2 separate regions of the Homo sapiens genome follow, and region 2 is linked to region 1. Evidence: promoter capture Hi-C in 16 types of primary human blood cells and fetal thymus (Javierre and others, 2016). All regions are on one chromosome and are shown on one strand. Each heading gives the region's core, a stretch centred on a gene start or on the middle of the fragment in contact. The rest is flanking DNA. Distances are from core to core; before and after follow the strand shown. Region 1 holds the start of SEPTIN9 (septin 9). Region 2 overlaps TNRC6C (trinucleotide repeat containing adaptor 6C).

Evidence for each region. Contacts are between HindIII fragments. The CHiCAGO score rates a contact against its expected background, and 5 or more counts as called.
Region 2: a contact is called between a fragment that was not itself captured here and the fragment with the promoter of SEPTIN9 in region 1, in 4 of 17 cell types (total CD4 T cells, total B cells, total CD8 T cells and 1 more). The highest score is 7.0, in total CD4 T cells.

What each region holds. Positions count from the first base shown.
Region 1 is chr17:77,280,071-77,283,301 of GRCh38, reverse strand. It overlaps SEPTIN9 (septin 9), which reads right to left and starts at 1,803. Exons shown (of 12, transcript NM_001113491.2): 1 at 1,748-1,803. The coding sequence starts at 1,766. It overlaps SEPTIN9-DT (SEPTIN9 divergent transcript), which reads left to right and starts at 1,405. Exons shown (of 3, transcript NR_136503.1): 1 at 1,405-1,690. RefSeq lists a silencer at 1,309-1,472 and an enhancer at 3,074-3,231. The HindIII fragment of the contact is 6,769 bases long and covers 1-3,231 here.
Region 2 is chr17:78,019,128-78,022,407 of GRCh38, reverse strand. The region is part of intron 3 of TNRC6C (trinucleotide repeat containing adaptor 6C); the gene reads right to left. Among named protein-coding and RNA genes, the nearest start is that of TNRC6C, 62 kb to the right of the region's middle. The HindIII fragment of the contact is 164 bases long and covers 1,314-1,477 here.

The sequences.
Region 1 (3,231 bases), core at 554-3,053:
TCAGAGGGGCCTGCCCCTTTAGGTAAACACAAGGAGGCACCGAGGCTGCTGTACAAGAGTTGGTTCCTGCTCACTCCACAAACTCTACTTCCACCTACTGCAAAAGGTTCTGTCCTTTTTTTTAAAAAAAAAAAAAAAAAAGAAACCCAGTGAGGGGTGGGGTAGGTGTGTGTGGAGGAGAGGAGAAAAGGACAAGTGATGGTCTCCCCACCTCCCAGTAAGCCGCAGGTGCAGAGACTCCAAGCCTGCCTCAGGGCCCTTCCGGCATCTGTGCAGGAGGGTCTCCGCAGAAAAAACCCAGGACCCACGACCTGGGAGGACCCCGGTCACCCCCACTGTCTGGACCCACCAGTGGGAGGTAAAGTGTAAGAAACCAAGGGCAAAGGGCCCTCCCTGGGCGGGCTAGAGATCCCCTGGAAAGGGCCATGCACCGCGCGATCCCCACAACAATCTCAAGTATTTGGAGCATGTTGGGGAGGAAGCCCCGGTGCCAAAACCAAGCATGTGCCACCTGGAAGCCCGCTCCCGCCCACCAGCACACCAACCCACCCACGCTCCTGACAGAGCTGTGCTCCGGGTGCGTAGAGGGCCATCTTGTTCGCAACAACCGGGTGAAAGTTGAAATTCTAAGCTACTGACCCAGAAGGGTATTTTCGGGGAAGTTCTGAGTAATCCTCTTTGAGACAAGGTACTTTATCACTCATTTTGGTTCCTAAATATGGAAAGCCAGAGGAAACCGACAATGGCCCAAAGGCAGGGGGATGGCCCCGATGACTCCTTCACCTCCAACTAAGGCCCATGATTCTGTTCTCCTATCAATAAAAATTAATTCATGGATCCTTGGCAGGTACCTTTCTATCTGAATGAATTAAAGGAGGGACATTAAACAAACGGTTTCTAGATTTAGAAGAGGAGACGCTATTTATAATTTGAGGACTGAGGAGGACAAAGGATCCTGCCTGCCTGGATCCTTTGGAGAAAACCACAAAGGAAAAAAAAAAGGAAGGAAAAGACAAATAATGAAGATCTGGATTTCTCTTAACCTGCCCTTGTGGCCTCGGTGTGCCCATCTGTGAAATGGAACTTCAGAGTGCCAGAGCGGGAGCCTCTTATGAAATGAAAGCTCCTGAACCGGCTCATGGTGAGGCCCAAGTCAGGCCCCCTTCGCCTACTTAAGGCGGGCCCTGCTAGGGTGGAGTGAGGATGTCAGCCGCGGGCGGCGTCCTGAGCGCAAAACGTGAACCCGAGTCGCCAAGTTTGGGCGCTGCTGGACGGTCCCATCTGGAGGCCGTCCCGTGCCCCACTAAGTAGAGGAGAAACCGAAGAGAATCCGAAGAAAGGATGCTGCGGCCTGGACCACCAGCCCTAGAGGCTGAACCCAAGGACACCCCTCCACCTAGCCCCGACCCCATTCACCCACACAGACGCACAGGGACCCAAAGCACCCGGCCGACCTGGAAAGTCAGCGATTCCTGCGAGGGTGCAAGGGGCGAGGAAGAGGGAGCGTCCCCCAGGGCAGCCCCTCCGACACTCGAGCAAGGGCTGGAGACAGCGCAGGGGACGGTCGGCTCAGGTCGAAAGCGGCCCGACAGCGGCCCTGTCCTGGGAGGAACTCGACCTGCAGTGTGCCCGCCGCGGGGACTCGCTCAGCTCCGGGGGCGCCTCGCCACTCCCGGCCGCAGGCACTCAGGTGAGCAGCGCTGGTCCCGGGACACCGACCCCTCCCCACCCCGGGCGCGAAGCCCACCTGAGTAAGACTTCTTCATGGTGCCTCCGTGGCCGCCGCTCCCAGGAAAGTGTGGCGGCGAGGCAGCGGGGCGCGCGCTCCCAGGGCGCTAATCCTGGGCCGGTAGTAGGAAGGCGGGAAGAGGGGGCGGCCCGCCGTCTGGAGTGCACCGACCGGGCCCCGCCCCGGCCCCGCCCCCGCCCCGCCCCTCCCCGGAGATGCGCATAGAACCCCGGCCCAGCCGGCTGTGGTCCCGCCCCTGACCCGCCCCCTCCCCGCCCCGTGAACGTGCGCGCCGAGCCCCACCCCCGCCCACCCCTGCGCTGCGCTGCACCTGGCGGAGCGGGGCTGGCGGGCGCCGGGCCTGGGAGGGGGCGCCCCCGCGCGGCAGCGCAGACCAGACCAGACCAGGCCAGGCCGGGGGTGGGGGCCGCCTGCGTGGCCCGCCGCGCCCGCAGCTCTGCACCCCCAGCTCCCCGCGCTGGCGCCAATGGCTGGTTCCGGGAGTCGCCGCACTTCCCAGTCCCGAGTCCGGGCGGGGCGGGCCCGGCCAGGTGGAAGCGGGCGGAGGTGCGGGCGCTCCGGGCGGCCCCGCCGGGCGAGGCGGCGGCGCCGGGCACCGCGGCGGCGCCGGGCACAGCCGGGGGTCGGAGCCGGGGTGCCGGCTTAGTGGGCCGGGGTAGGGCGGGACAGGACACCTGTCCTGCTACTTTTCTGGTAATCAAAAGGGCAGAGTGCGTCGATTGAGTTGGAGCCTTAGTTTCCTCACCTGTAAATGGGCGCGTTGGACAGATGATCATTTGTTCTCCCTGCGCTGGGCACCGTGCGCAGCTCGGTGTATCGGTGCAGCGGGGCAGACACAGGGAGCCGCCCTTTACAACTCGGGTAACGCAGGCAGTGGTGAGAGGATGCAAAACTTGCACGGAAGAATTCTCTCTACTTGGATATCCTTAAAGTCTCCACGATAAAGCGGTGTTTCCAACGTACAGAGGAAGAAGTGACTAATTATGACTGGAGGGTGGTGTCAGAGTTTTATTGAGGCGAAATCAAAACAGGGTTTTAAGGAATGAGCAGGAATTAGCCAGGCAGCCAAGGTGATGGAAGGCAGCTGTTCCCGAAAGAGGGAAGGGCGTGGCGGAGCCTGGGAGGCCTGAGGTATCACAGCGAGTGTGGAGAGACAGAGGCAGGGCCGGGCCCTTGCACAGCTGCCAATGGAGGCCGTAGAGGACGAGAGGAAGGCGGGAGGCCAGTTGGGAAGCGCTCGCTAGTTCTGGGTAGGGGCGCAGCATTGCCTTCTCCTGCAGCCCTCCCAAAAATGCACAGGAGGCTGAAAGTGTCACTAACAGCCCCGAAAAATCCTCCTCCTCTTCCCCTCTCCTTTACTCTCCTTGGGGGTCCAAGAAGCATTTTCATTTCCTGCCTGAGTGTGGGAAACTTATATGCATGAGAACGGAGGCCTATGTGGCACCGTGGGTTCGTTCCGGCCCACCTGCTTCCTTTCTTGA
Region 2 (3,280 bases), core at 146-2,645, 740 kb before region 1:
CAAATCATAGATGAATGTTATCAGTCCATTTTTCAATATAAACCACCAAATTCTAAGACATTTGGATATGGAATATGGTTTCCTGTGTGCTACCTGCCTGATGCATTATGTGTAGTCAATCTTATATCTAAGACAGACTCATTTTTAAAGAGTCAAAGTATTCCTAACCAGTCTTCCCTTTCCACCTTGAATAACTGTTATGTGAGTAGGGCAGGACTGGCAGGTGAAGTAAGAATGCCCCTTACATTTTTAAAGGATGGGGGAAAAACTCAAAGACAAATATATGACAGAGACCATATATGGCCAGCAAAGTCTAAAATTCTGGGAATGACCTTGGTGAGAGTCTCACTGCCTCTGGGCATCTTTTTGGCCCAAAGGCTAGACCTACAGGAAAAGAGCCAGATACTAATAGAGTTCCAACTACTTGTAATATTAGACTATCAGACATAGAAACCTTCCAGAGGAAAAATCCTGGTAATATATCCCAAAGTCTTATGTAGGTATTGTTTTATTTTAATTAAAAAATTATAAATAAATAGACCAGGCATGGTGGCTCACACCTTTAATCCCAGCACTTTGGGAGGCCGAGGCAGGCAGATCACCTGAAGTCAGGAGTTCAAGACCAGCTTGGCCAACATGGTGAAACCCCATCTCTACTAAAAATACCAAAATTAGCTGGGCATGGTGGCATACCCCTGTAATTCCAGCTACTTGGGAGGCTGAGGCAGAATAATGACTTGAGCCAGGGAGGCAGAGGTTGCAGTGAGCCGAGACTGCGCCATCGCACTCCAGCCTGGGTGACAGAGTGAGACTCTATCTCAAGAAAATAAAAATAAAAAAATAAATAACCTATTCCATGTCTCCTCTCCATAATCTTTTTTATGATTACTGAATGAAAAGTTAAAATGATGCTATTTATCAAGAAGAAACAGGAACATATTAAGTATGGAGAAATGAAATCACTCTCTTAGAAACGCAGGTGCTTTTACTTTATAACAGCCTTGAGCTATGAGCACAACAGGACCAGTGAACGAGCACAAGCACATCAGGCTTGTCTGAATGCGTGGCCCACGCCCCTCCTGTGCCCCTCAGAGACGCCTTTGTGCTCTGCTGGCCCTCTCACTGCTAATGGACTTCAAGTCTTTGTACTCATTCTCCAGCCCTGGACTCTCTGGAGAGGTTGTCCATGCTCACCATTCTGACCATCATTTCTGTGCTACTGATGCCTGAGTACTGTCCCAGTGTTGCCCTCGAGCTCCAAGTCCAGCCTCCTTCTTCAGCTACCTACTGGACAGTGCTGCCTGAAGGAAGCTTTCTTTCCTACTAAACACATCCAAAAGTCAAACAAGAATTTCCTGGTCTGAGTCCAGGACTGTGTTGGTTGCCGTAGGAAGGCACTGGAGCACTTAGGTTTCTCACTTAAGTGAATCAACAATGAACTGGGGAAATAAAGAAGACACACAGAGTATTTAAAGCTTGTGCAATTGACTGGAAATCTCAGACAAGTGTAGAGGGGAAGGATGACCATGTGCTGCCCAGTACAGCAGCCACTGGCCAAGTGTGGCTATTGAGCCTTGAGGTCTAAATTGAGATGTACTTAGTATTAAAACATATACTGGATTCTAAAGACTTAGCACCAAAAAAAAGAGAAATACCTCATTAACAATTTTTCTGTTGCTTTCACATTGAAATGGCGATATTTTGGATATATCAAGTTAAACATTATTAAAAGTAATTCCGCCTGTTACTTTTTAGATGATGCAACTAGCCTATTTAAAATGATTCATGTGGCTCACATTTGTGGCTTCCATTATTTCTTTTGAATGGTGCTGGTCTAGAAATGGCATTGTATTATTGGAAAGGATAAAGTTTAAGCTAGTTTCTCAGAAACCGCTAAATAATTACCTGTTTTCATAAAGACTGAAAGTGAAACAGAGATTGAGAAACTACAAGTTGTGACAGATCACAAGCTTTTTCAGGTGGGAGAATTTCCCTTACAACTATTTACTCTACACTAAAGTACTAGCACATTATTTTACAAACAGAAAAAAATGCCACAAAGCATGTATTCAATTAATAAAAAGACCAAGGGTCCCGGAGTATAATGCAAGCATGGCACACTCAGTTTACCCACGTACTTGTTCTCACAGTGATATTTCCAGCTTGCAATGCTAATGCTATGGCTGGTAGTCTACAGGTCATCCTGGACCCTAAGAAAAGGGAAGAGAAGCCTCACTCAGCAAAGCAACAGACAGAGGAATGCGGAATTCTGACCCAGTTGAGCTGTACACCTCTGGGTCTCTTTTATATTATGCAGTGATAAACCTTCTGACTTAAGCCAGTAATTTTTGGATCTTTGAATCAAGCAGCCACTTAATAATCTGAAGGGATAAGTGGAAGATCTCAAAATCTGGATCTATTCTTGTAACACAGATAAATTAAATGGGCATTTTCTTTTTTTGTCTAGCCATAAACTCTTTTCAGATCCTCACTTATGGGTCTATTACTGTCTAAAAAACCAGGGCATCAAAGCAATCTTGACATTCCCCTTCTTCAAAAAGACCTGACTCTAGGGCCATACCTCACAGATAAGGACTCACATGGGAACCTACCCTTTTGCATATCAGCATTTTCATGCAGCAGGAGAATACAGGAAGGCAATGGGAACTTTAGTTTCTTTATGATTTTTCAACAAATCATTTGTTTTATTTAAGAAATATTAAGATAGCAACCATTTAATAACTACATATATAATTTTAAAAAACTTTCAGCAAGATGGAAATTTTGGTTACTCTTTGCCTAGTAAGCTTTTGCCTTTTGTTTTTTAAATGAGGGTGACATCTGCTGGTGAAAAGGTAGATGGTAACTCTTTATATAAGAAAGCAACAGTCTTTTAAAACAATTTTCTTTCCAAGGATTTTCTGCTTTCAGCTAAAATTTTCAGGTAGTGTTGTCATAACAGGGCCAAATAGAGAGATTCCCACATTTTGCTTTTTCTAAAATGACAGGCTACAGTATGGACACAAAGTTCAGGCTGCTGTCCCTTCAGACTTTGGAGAACTTGATTTTGAAAGAGCTCCTTTTCAGACTTTTCTACTACATTGTCATCTCTAAGATACCAAGACAGAAGGAACTTGCCTTGCTGACCCAGCCTCGTTAGCCTCCAGTCTACCCTTGCTAGGGTCTGAGCCTTTTCAAGTCCTGGCTGCAACCCCATTCTCTCTGCTTCTTTCCTAGCCATTTTAGTTGGCTTGAGTCTCATCATGCTCAGTCACTTCAA